4 separate regions of the Homo sapiens genome follow, and all the other regions are linked to region 1. The links are contacts of gene promoters, found by promoter capture Hi-C in blood cells and fetal thymus (Javierre and others, 2016). All regions are on one chromosome and are shown on one strand. Each heading gives the region's core, a stretch centred on a gene start or on the middle of the fragment in contact. The rest is flanking DNA. Distances are from core to core; before and after follow the strand shown.

What was found. Contacts are between HindIII fragments. The CHiCAGO score rates a contact against its expected background, and 5 or more counts as called.
Region 2: a fragment that was not itself captured here is called in contact with the fragment with the promoter of PRICKLE1 in region 1 in 4 of 17 cell types (megakaryocytes, M1 macrophages, M0 macrophages and 1 more); the score reaches 11.5 in megakaryocytes.
Region 3: a contact is called between a fragment that was not itself captured here and the fragment with the promoter of PRICKLE1 in region 1, in 1 of 17 cell types (M0 macrophages). The highest score is 5.5, in M0 macrophages.
Region 4: a contact is called between a fragment that was not itself captured here and the fragment with the promoter of PRICKLE1 in region 1, in 1 of 17 cell types (megakaryocytes). The highest score is 5.4, in megakaryocytes.

The regions. Positions count from the first base shown.
Region 1 is chr12:42,588,390-42,591,226 of GRCh38, reverse strand. It overlaps PRICKLE1 (prickle planar cell polarity protein 1), which reads left to right and starts at 1,481. Exons shown (of 8, transcript NM_153026.3): 1 at 1,481-1,762. RefSeq lists an enhancer at 201-758 and a silencer at 1,228-1,477. The HindIII fragment of the contact is 6,666 bases long and covers 1-2,837 here.
Region 2 is chr12:43,339,586-43,342,422 of GRCh38, reverse strand. No RefSeq gene overlaps it. Among named protein-coding and RNA genes, the nearest start is that of LINC02461, 190 kb to the right of the region's middle. The HindIII fragment of the contact is 3,677 bases long and covers 1-2,837 here.
Region 3 is chr12:43,319,224-43,322,060 of GRCh38, reverse strand. No RefSeq gene overlaps it. Among named protein-coding and RNA genes, the nearest start is that of LINC02461, 170 kb to the right of the region's middle. The HindIII fragment of the contact is 1,733 bases long and covers 595-2,327 here.
Region 4 is chr12:43,267,016-43,269,852 of GRCh38, reverse strand. No RefSeq gene overlaps it. Among named protein-coding and RNA genes, the nearest start is that of LINC02461, 110 kb to the right of the region's middle. The HindIII fragment of the contact is 4,161 bases long and covers 1-2,837 here.

The DNA.
Region 1 (2,837 bases), core at 232-2,731:
GGCATCTAGACAGGAGAAAGTATCTACAGCGTGGGGAGATCTGAGTCAGAATTATAGAGCACAGTGCTGAAGCCATACATTTTCCTGGATTTAGACAGTTTCCTCCTCCATTTGCCTTTATTTCCTTGCATTCTCTTTTCATCGGCTCCATTTTTGCTGAGTATTCCTTTGCTTTATTCCCAACGAAAATCGAAAAGACTTGATGTTCTGAGAAATTCTGAGACTGGCAGTTTTGATTTTTCTTAAAAGGATAAAAATTGCATCAGTCAACACCTCCCTCCACACTCCCCCCACACACATCCTCATCTTCCTGGAAGATGATACAGTATCCTAGAGCGTTGTGGAGAGGATGGAGAGGTCAAGGAAGCCCTGGCTTTGCAGAGGCACCTGTCAAGTTCGGGTTAACAGCTGCCGCCTGTGTCTGCCCTCTGCAGTCCAGGGAAATAGTACCCACACGGTGAGACTCCACCGATCCGGAACTGGAGAGGGTGGGGGGTTCTAAGGTTTAGTGTGACACAAATGTCAGGGCAGAACTTTCAAACAGGCTGAGCCCCAGTTCAACGTGGGTGAGTGCGCCTGAGAGCCCAGCTCTGGGAATTGAGCAGACTGAAAATGTGGAGAGTAGTTTGGCCAGTGAAAAATTGTCACCGTGTTCGGATCAATGCTTTGAACCCGCTTTTAAGTGCGCCACGTTCACTTGGGTCAGGCTCTGGACATTGCGGTGGGCTGAGGTTTTCGCGGGCACGATCCCCCACACTGAGTTTTCATGGAGACGACCAGGGCCGTCGAGGCGGGGAAGGGAACGGACTAGAGGCTGAACTTTGGCTTCTTGCTCTGAAAGATCACTCCTCCGGTTCCGGGGCAGAGACTCAGACCAGCCTGTGGGATTACACGAGACAGGATCGAGTCCAAACGGGTCCCCAGCTCGGCAAGGCGCGCCGGAAGGAATCTAAGTGTTTAATTAACTGCCCCCTTCACACACCCCCCGAAGGAGAAGGAACTCAAATAGGCACCCCTACCCAAATCGTTTGATCAGAGGAAATTGGGTTTGTCTCTCCCCCACCCCCCACCCCGTCCCTTCACTCTTCCTGTGTTTCAGTCCATCGGGATTGTTGGTTAAAAAAAAAAAAAAAAAAAGGCTTATAATCGGGGGCGGGGCAGAGGCTCCGAGCGAGCCGCACTTGCGACTCTGGACCGCGGTTGGTGAACTTTTTTCTCCCTGCGCATAATCCGCCTGCTGCTCTGCCCCACTGGCTGCGCGTGGAGCCGGTCCCAGGCCTGCTCGCAGCCCTGCCCCCGGGCGCGGCCCGAGCCGGGCCCGACCTCGCTTTCAGGGCCGAGCCGGGGTACGCGTGGGCGCGCGCCCAGCGGCCTCGATCCCGCGGCGGCGTCCGCGCTCCGCGTTTTCGCTCGCGCCGGGCCCCGCGGCCGAGGGCGGGGTGCGCGGCGGCGCCGCAGCGCGCGGCTCCGGAGCCCGAGCGCACTCCGCCTGCAGCCCAGCTGCCAGCGCCGTCTCCCGCGGCCGCCGCCGCCCGACAGCGCGCCCGGAACATGCCAGCCTCGCGCAGCCTGCGCTGACTTCCCCGAGACGCGCCGCGGTCGGCACGGAGACTTTCTGGGCTCTGGATGGTTCGTGCGCTGCTCACCCTCGCCCACCCCTGACGCCGCGGACCGCAGCTCCTCAGCCCCGCAGCCCCGCAGCCCAGCAGCCCCGCAGCGGCGCCGAGGACAGTGCAGCCGAGTTGCGTCTCCCTCGCGCGAGGTGAGTGGCAGCCTGGATCCCGGCGGATTCCGCAGAGGGGGCTGCGGCGCGGTGGTGGGGGGCGAGCGCCGCAGGGGTAGGGCCGGGCACCTTCGCTGGCACCGCCGGAGTCTGTGACACCCAGACTGGGTCGGTGTCGCAGAAGATCAGGGAGAAGGTCATAATCGGTTTGTTGGGCTGTGTAGACAGGGAAAGCAGATATTGGCTGCAGCATCGCCAGGGCTCCGCAGAGGCTCTCCGCATGGCTCCTGTTTGCTGCATCACAACCAACTCTTCCCTTGGTTTTCTCCGGCGTGGAAACAGGTTCTGTAGCCCGAGGGTCGAGGCGATGCGGGGCGCCGGGAGGCGAGGGTGCGTTGGCGTGTTCCCGCCGCTTAGGATCGCCTGTCACCTACTGGCGTCCGGAGGGAGGGTACCGATTCTCTCCTCTAGCGCTGGGGAAAGGGGCTGGTGGCTTTTTGGCAGAGGCGAATCAACTCCCACCACTCTCCCCAACCCCCTGCCCCGCGATGGTGTTTGCTGAATGTAGCACAGATATAGGGAAAAAATGGGAGCGTCTTCCTCTCTTGAGGTAGAAAAAGTTGAAGAAACTAGGCATGTTAATAGTTATTAGGAGCGGGACTCAGGATGCAGCAGAAAGCTGTTAAATTTTCATTACCCTCTAAGAAAAACAAACGGCATCGCCAGTGACTATTGGCAGTGCTGTGTTATTCTTGGGACTTTGGGAAAATTGTTCACAGATTGTCTTCAGGAGGCTGAAGAACGAGGTTGGGGGTTGGGAGAGAGGGAGGACGGCTGCATCACGCTTAGTTCCAGCTTGCCTAAGGAGGGTTCAGGATCACAAGCCGAACGCGTTTGGTTGCTGATTTTTAAAAGGGTATCAGCGGCAGAACTGAGACCATGAACAAGGCAAACACACCACGGGAACCAGCCTAAAGGAAAAAAAAAAAGCACCAACAACTACAACCAAAAAAACATGTAAAAATCTGCCTCTCCTGCAGAGTTAACATGCATTTGTGCTATCAAATGGATGCATGTATATGTGTCTTTTAGGATAAGTTTTATGAATGACAAA
Region 2 (2,837 bases), core at 254-2,753, 750 kb before region 1:
AAGGGGTTGAGGAAGAGATATTTTAGGTAAGTATGAACCTTGTAGAATTACTAAAATTTGCAAAATGTTCTTTAAGCCTAAAGCATTGGAAAAGGTAAAGACAGTTATTACAAACAACTATTACTGAAAAAGTGTCCTGATCCAGACCCCAAGAGAGGGTTCTTGGACCTTGCCCAAGAAACAATTTGGGGTGAGTCCATAGAGTAAAGTGAAAACAAGTTTATTAGGAAAGTAAAGGAATAAAAAATGGCTACTCCATAGGCAGAGCAGCAGCATGGGCTGCTTGTGTAAGAATACTTTATTTTTTCATTATATGCTTAACAAAGGGTAGATTATTCATGAGTTTTCTAGGAAAGGGGTGCGCAATTCCTGGAACTGAGGGTTCCTCCCCTTTTTAGACCATGTAGGGTAACTTCCTGATGTTGCCATGGCATTTGTAAACTGTCATGTTGTTGATGGGAGTGTCTTTCAGTATGCTAATGCATTATAATTAGCATATAATGAGGAGTGAGGATGACCAGAGGTTACTTTCATTGCCCTCTTGGTTTTGGGGGGTTTTGGCCGGCTTCTTTACCACGACCTGTTTTATAAGCAAGATCTTTGTGACCTGTATCTTGTGCCAACTTCCTATCTCATCCTGTAATTAAGAATGCCTAGCCTCCTGGGAATGCAGCCCAATAGGTCTCAGTCTTATTTTACACAGCCCCTATTCAAGATGGAGTCACTCTGGTTCAAATGCCTCTGACACAACCAGAGAAAATATTTATCAGAAACTTAGGGCAATCCTGAACCCACGCACCCAAACTCATAGCTTCAAAATATAAAAAGTAAAAATGGACAGAACTACAAGAAAAAATGTGAAAATGTAATGGTGTCAGAAAATTTAATTTGGATATTAAAAACAAAACTTCCAAACAACTTGTAGGTTGGAGAAAGACTCAGTATATTTTGTAATTTTAAATAAAAGCAAAACACGATCACAGCTTGTAAGATCAATGTTAGCAACAAAAGGAAGCAAAAAGAAGACAAACTAAGGATAGGACCTGTTTGGGAAACCCTGGGACACATGAAGAGAATCATCTGGCCTGATATTCCTCCAGATGTTTTGAACTGAAAGACTTCTGAACTTTCTGAGCCTACAGGAATGGCCAGCCTCTCCCTAGTATGAACCAGTACACCCTGCATTCTGGAAGATGATGCAGAGGCCCCTCTTCCACAAAGTTTTAGGTACCTCTTTCTGGATCTGCCCTTCCCTCTCCTCCTGGGCACTAGGACACTGGACCTATAAGTAGGATTAAGTCACAGCATGACCCAGCTAGGGACTTACTGGGCTTTATAACAAAGGAAAAGAGATATTTCCCAAAGGAGCTGCAAGACCTAGCCAACATGTACTGGCAGAAGCTGGAGAAGTGGCATTTGAGGGGGCCTGCCCTGCTGAGAGTTATGGAGATAGTCAACAGAACACGTTATCTAAAGGGTCAAAATATGAGGGGAGTCAACAAGGGCATTACTCAGCGTCTACCAGTAGAAGACATCAAAAGAGGCCAAGCACAGTCATTCTTTGCCAAATTTTTGGACTTGAGGCAATTTTCAGACTCAACACCCATTGACTGAGGAGTGGCTTGGTCCCCAGGAGGAAAGACTGCCAAACCCCAGTGAATTTATATGCTAATAGTTTTCCCAATCCTTCCTCTGAAACATCTATGGACATTTACTCAGATATTGTGCACTAAGGAAATGGGAACGTCTATGCATTTCAGAGACCATTAGATACTGTGTCTGAGATAATACTTACATCTGGAGACATGAAATGTCATCATAACCATTAGGATGGGGTCCAGATAATAAATGGAATCCTGGCTATGTTCTGATTTATATGGGGTTCGCTAGGTCCATAGATCCATAGGTCCACCTGGTGATCATTCCTCTAATCTGAAGGTACAACTGGGATTGAAACACATGGCAGTTGGTACAATTTCACATTGGGTCCTTGGCCTGTGGGGTGAGATTTGTCATAGTAGGGAAGATGGAGGTCTCCAAATCTCACACCCAGTCTGGAAGTCTTATCACATTGTGGAGGTAGTGATATTGAGGGAGGATGGCAGAGATTAGTGCCCTTAAGGATCTAATGAATCCAGGTTCCGGGGATAGTGTTTCCCATCTTATTTCCATTTAATTCACCAGTTTGTATGCTGAAGAAACTGGATGAATCCTAGAAGATGACTATAGCCTACCACAAACTCAACCAAATAGTAATTGTCAACACAGTCTTGGTGGCAGAAGTGGTATCTTTGCTATAACAGATTAATATGACCTCAGACACATGGTCTGCAGCCACTGATTTACCAAATTTGTTCTTTTCTATCCCCAAAAGGAAAGAAGATTAGAAATAGTTAATAATCACATGGATTGGACCCAAAAAGTTACATTTACAATTATGCTTCACCTCAAGACTGTATTAATTTTCTCATCTTCTGTGACAGTCATACTCCAAAGAAATATGGATCATGTGGTCATCTTTGATCATCACATTGATCCATTACATTGATGGTTATATGTAGACTGGATTAGATGAGCAAGAAGTGGATGATGGAGGTCTTGTTAAATAAAACATACCCACTGCAGAGGAGGGGAGATAAACCCCATAAAAATGTCAGAAACCTGACAGAAACCTATGAGTTTAGGGATTTTAGTGATCAGAGCTCTGCTGGGACATCCTGTCCTGATAAAAATCAAACCTTCGTATCTTACAGCTCTTACCATGAAAAAGAGAGCAAAATAGCTGGAAGACTTCTTCGGGTTCTGAGGCAACATATTCTACAACTAAAAACACTGCG
Region 3 (2,837 bases), core at 212-2,711, 730 kb before region 1:
AGGCTCCTCAGAAAAGGATTTTCAGGGTCTAACATGGATGACAATTCTTACTGATATGGTTTGGCTGTGTCCCCACCCAAATCTCATCTCGAATTGTAGCTTCCATTATCCCCATGTGTCTTGGGAGGGACCTAATGGGAGGTAATTAAGTCATGGGGGCAGGTTTTTTCCATGCTGTTCTCATGATAGTGAATAAGCCTCACGAGATCTGATGATTTTATAAAGGGCAGTTCCCCTGCACACATGCGAGACATGCCTGCTGCCATGCGAGACATGCCTTTGCTTCTCCTTTGCTTTCTGCCATGATTGTCACGCCTCTCTAGCCATATGAAACTGTAAATCCATTAAACCTCTTTTTCTTTATAAGTTACCCAGTCTTGGGTATGTCTTTATTAGCAGCATGAGAACAGACTAATACACTTACCTAATAATCCCTCTGAAGATTCACTATGCCTATTTACTTGAGGCATGGCTCTGATATTTACTGCAGATCCAAACCTATTTGATGTGGTATTTCAGCATACAAACAGAAACTTTGGGAAAATCATTTGTATAATATGTAAAATGAAGATGATTCAATAACTTTTAAAAGCTTGGTCAGTTATTATCTACTGATGGCCTTCTGTTCTTCCTAGGAGGCATAAAACAGCAAATTAGGAATGGTAGGATTGTTGCTGATGTGAATTTTTTTTTAAATAGTCATCTTGTTACTGAAATAACAGATTTTTAAATGCTGTGGACATATAAGGTAAGGAAATAGAGTGTAACAGTTAAGAATCCAGATACCAAAATGGTTATAGGTAACATTAGAAAGAATAAGGAGAGATAAAGAGTTGGGCGTAGTGGCATGAGCCTGTAGTCCCAGCTACTCATGAGTGGGAGAGTCCATTGAGCTCAGGAGTGTGATACCAGCCTGGGCAACATAGCAAGACCCTGTCTGTAAAAAAATGTGGTGAGGTAAAATTACAAAGTAACTGAGCTGTATCATTATAAGATTTCTTAGGATTTGAACTCTTATATAGCATTTAGGTGAAAAGCGTTTAGTTACACTAATTTACTCAAATTGATTCTGATTTTAATGTCTTAGTCTACACAAAGGTTCTAAAGATCAGTAGGCTAACATAATTTAGAAGAAGGGCATAATGATTGAATCATCTATACCCTAAATGACCAGCCTGATTAGTAGAGAGTAGGCTTTGCATTGAAAATGAGTAACCTACGAGGGAAAAAAGGAAATATTAAAATTTAATGTATCTAGCATTTTCAAGGAAATCAGCCTTTAATTCCCTTGGCCAATGTCCAGAAGAACAGTAGTAGACTGTCAAATATGCCTTGGATTTAATTGGGTACCCCACTTTAAAAAATATTTCTGATCTCTGGATCATGACAATATAATGTTCAACTGGATCTTTTCTCAGCCTATATTTTTCCAGACTGCATTTCTAATCATTTTGGTCAGACCTCATTTGGTAGCCCACATAAATCCCTAAAATGATTTTTAGTTTGTCTAGCACTTTTTCAAATGGGATTACATTTTTCTTCAGCAGGCCAGATGTTCCAGCGTTTCTCAGGGAATAGGCCAAGAACCATCTACATAGAAACGTCTGGGGTTCTTGTTAAAAATGTACACATCTAGGCCTAGCCAAAGGCCCTGGCAGGGAATCTGCATTTTCAAGAAGCACCCTTGGTGATATTTATACTCTCTTAAGATTGAGAACGTTTGAACTATTGGATGACGCTGAAAGGGCAGCTAGACAGTGATCACTGATCTTTACTTGTCCAGAAAGCAAACTATGTGGTGGCTGTTTTCTGCTTCGTCCTGGGTCAGACTTGCTGGTTTTTCAGAGTCAGAATAGCGGAGAGTTAAGAAACTTGATCAGCTTTAGAGTTGGATTGCCAGTCAAAACACAGGATACTCAGACAAATATGAATTTCAGGTAAACAACAAATAATTGTTTAGTATATGTGTGTTCCAAAGATTGCATGGGACGTACTTATGCCGAACAATTATTTGTTGTTCATCTGAAATTCGAACAACTGGATGTCCTGTATCTATATTTGTTAAATTTGACAACTGTCCATTTTAATCAAAAAGGTCTGGGTTTGGATCTGCCACTTATTAGTTGGTAACCTTGGAAATTTTTATTCACCTCTCTAAACTTCCATTTTCCAAACCATGAGATGAAGCAGTAGCAACAACAACAACAAAAACCAAACAAACAAAAACTCCACAAAAATCTGCCTTACTGGGTTATCAGGAAAATTCTACTATATTTATTTTATAATGTAATCTTTCTACATGTTGCATCTGGCATATATTAAAAGCTTAATGATATGTAGCTGTTCTTGTTATTGTCATGGCTAATATGACACATTCCAAAAAGAGCTTCTAAGCCTGGTTAACAAATATCGATATCATTTACAAATTGACAATGTATTATATTAATTTTTTTCACCGAGTGCATTAATGGAACATATAAAGTAGCTAATTCAATGTCCCACCTTCTGTCCACTCATTTCCTTCTCATGTTTTGTTCTTTACCTTTATTGTATCATGAATTTAGGAACAAAGCATGTGAATATATGGATTTTTTTTTTCACTTGCTTTCTCTGTGATTGTAAGTTTTAAAACTGACTTAGGACATTTTTTATGTTATTTATTTATTTATTATTTTTTGAGAAGGAATTTCGCTCTTGTTGCCCAGGCTGTAGCGCATTGGCACGATCTCGGCTCACCGCAACCTCCACCTCCCGGGTTCAAGCAATTCTCCTGCCTCAGCTTCCTGAGTAGCTGGGATTACAGGCTTGTGCCACTACGCCCTGCTAATTTTGTATTT
Region 4 (2,837 bases), core at 143-2,642, 680 kb before region 1:
TCCAGAACCCCCACACCAAATTCCCAGATACTCAAGCCCCTTCTATAAAATGATGTAATATTTACATGTAGCCTATGGACATCCTCCCATATACTTTAAATCATCTCTAGATGATATACAATACCTAATACAATGTAAATGCTATGTAAATAGTCATACTGTACTGTTTTTAAACTTTTATCGTTTGTTATTGTATTGTTATTTGATTATTATTTGTTGAATGTATTCTATTTGTGATTCAATTAAATCCATGGTTGAACCTGTGGATACGAGAGCTAACTGTACATAGATACATATACATACATATATAATACCACCACATTTACAAATAATGAGATAGCCCATCAAAGGCATTGTTCTACCAGAGATTAAATTTGTGTGTGTGTGTTTCTTTTTTTTTTTTTTCTTTTTTGAGATGGAGTCTCGCTCTGTCACCCAGGCTGGAGTGCAATGGTGTGATCTCAGCTCACTGCAACCTCTGCCTCCCAGGTTCAAGCGATTCTCCTGCCTCAGCTTCCCAAGTAGCTGGGCTTACAGGCACCCACCACTACGCCTGGCTAATTTTTTGTATTTTTAGTAGAGACGGGTTTCACTATGTTGGCCAGGCAGGTCTCGAACTCCTAACCTCAGGCGATCCACCTGCCTCGGCCTCCCAATGTCCATTTCTCTGTTTTAACAAGAAAAGTTGCCAGCAATCTCAAGGTGCAGGTGAGGACAGGAAATCATTCTGGGAGTGCTGAGTGGAGTGTCCCTTTGAAAGGGAATTCTAATAGTTCTGATTATAAGTAGCTCTAGCAGAATGCATGTGGTTGCCAGGGAGAAAAGGAATATGAGGATTCTAGGTTTATGGGGAGGTAGCTGCTAGAAATTTGAACTAAAAGTGATGAGTGCTTAAAGCTGTACCCTTAGGAGATCATGTGTGGGGCACTCTTTACCAATTATACTATAAGGAAATGGAATCACCTCTCACAGCAGAGCACAGGCACTATCTGTCAGGATGTTTGGGAGAATAAAATAGCACATGGCAGTGAGAAACAATAAAATTGTGACTTGATCAAATTGGTATTATCTTCTCCTGCTGTGAGTAAAATGGAGCAAGAGCCCTTTATAACAATACCTAGAGAGTATAGACCTTTAGGACATGGGTCGCATACTGGACTATCTGCTAATAGTGCAGGAAAAAAAATAAATAAATTTAAAAAGAGCTGCAATTGTATTTGTAACTAAAGTTATGAAGCTATTCCTTTGAAAGATAAATGTGTGTGTGCATTTAATTTTATTTACCAATAGTCAGAAATATACAAATAAACTTTACTTACATGGTTCACCATAATTTCACTTGAAGAGAAGAAAGATTGCTAGCTTCAAAAGTATCTTTCTATACCATCTTTGTGAGGAAGATGAACACATTTCATGGTTAAAATATAGATTTTAAAAATACTGGAGTCTTATTTTCTATGAGAATTGCTGAATTATCACTTAACTACTTGAGAAATGTTCACTTTTTGCCAAAGCCTCCACAGTACTTTGGGAAGAATCTGCAGTCTGCTGGGAATCTTACTTCTCTGGGACAAAGGGAGTTAAAGACCTTGTGCTCCTCAATACATTTGACATTCCAAGAAATTTTGTAATAAAAGAGGAAGCAATTAATCTATGAAAAATATTTCATAAAGAGAAAAGCACTTATACTTCTTTCAGGAAAAAAGAAGTTGTCAAACTCCACATTAAATGCATTGTAGATGAAATACACTTGAGCAGGAAGGGAGGAGAATTAGGAGCAGTGGTCAAAGGGCCCTGGAGCCTAGAAGAAAAGAATCTGATGGAGCACAGCTGCAGCCAATCCGCATAACGTTCTCTCCAAGGAAGGAAACTGAGCGATAATGCCAACCAAACAATGTTATCACAGTGGCCAACTGCTAGTTGCAAAAGGCCAAGGCAAACTGAGATATTTACATTCAAGAGTAAAACAATTATCTTGCATCTTATTTCCATTTTCATTTCCTGTTCATACTGTCTAACTAAGTGAGAGATAAGGGTAACATTTTTAATAACAGGAGTTCCAAATAATTTCAGAGAAAATGAAATATTTACCAAAAATTTAGTGCTTCAAGGGGGCAAATTCCTCTAAGCAACTACATGGACAGTGCTAGATATAGGGCATATACTCAATCAAGAGCATTCGAATTCAATCAACAGATTACTAAATATTTATTGAGTTACCTACTAAGATGGGGCTTAGGCTAAAGTCAAATCCCAGCTCTGTCCACTATACTCACACAGCACTTTCAAAATATTTTCAACATCCACCCTCATGCCACAATAATTACTTATTTATGGGTCTATCTTTTAACTACAGTTTGAGGTGCAGGAAGATAAATGCCATGATTAAATAATTATTATATCTCAATTAGTTTGCTCAATGCTGTACAGACATGGTAGCTACTAAATAAATATTTTGTGAATTTATTAAAAATTAATACATATATTAGTTTATTGTCCTTATTTCCTAGGCTTGCCTTCATTGCTGTGGTTCTGTGTAAATTTGCTCAAGCTCTTCATGCTCTATTTAGAATAACACTGACTTCACAGGATTTTTTTTTTTTTTTGCTCAAACGTGTCTTTATTTTGCCTTCTTTCTACTTTAAAAATATCAGCTTTATTCAGTTATAGTTTACATACAATAAAATCCAACACTTTAAAATGTACATTTGAATAGGTTTTGATGAATGCATTTAGTCATGTAACCGCTACCACAATTTATATGATTAGGCTTTGTTTCCCCACCAAAATCTCATCTTGAATTATATTCCCCACAATCCCCACATGTCAAGGGAGAG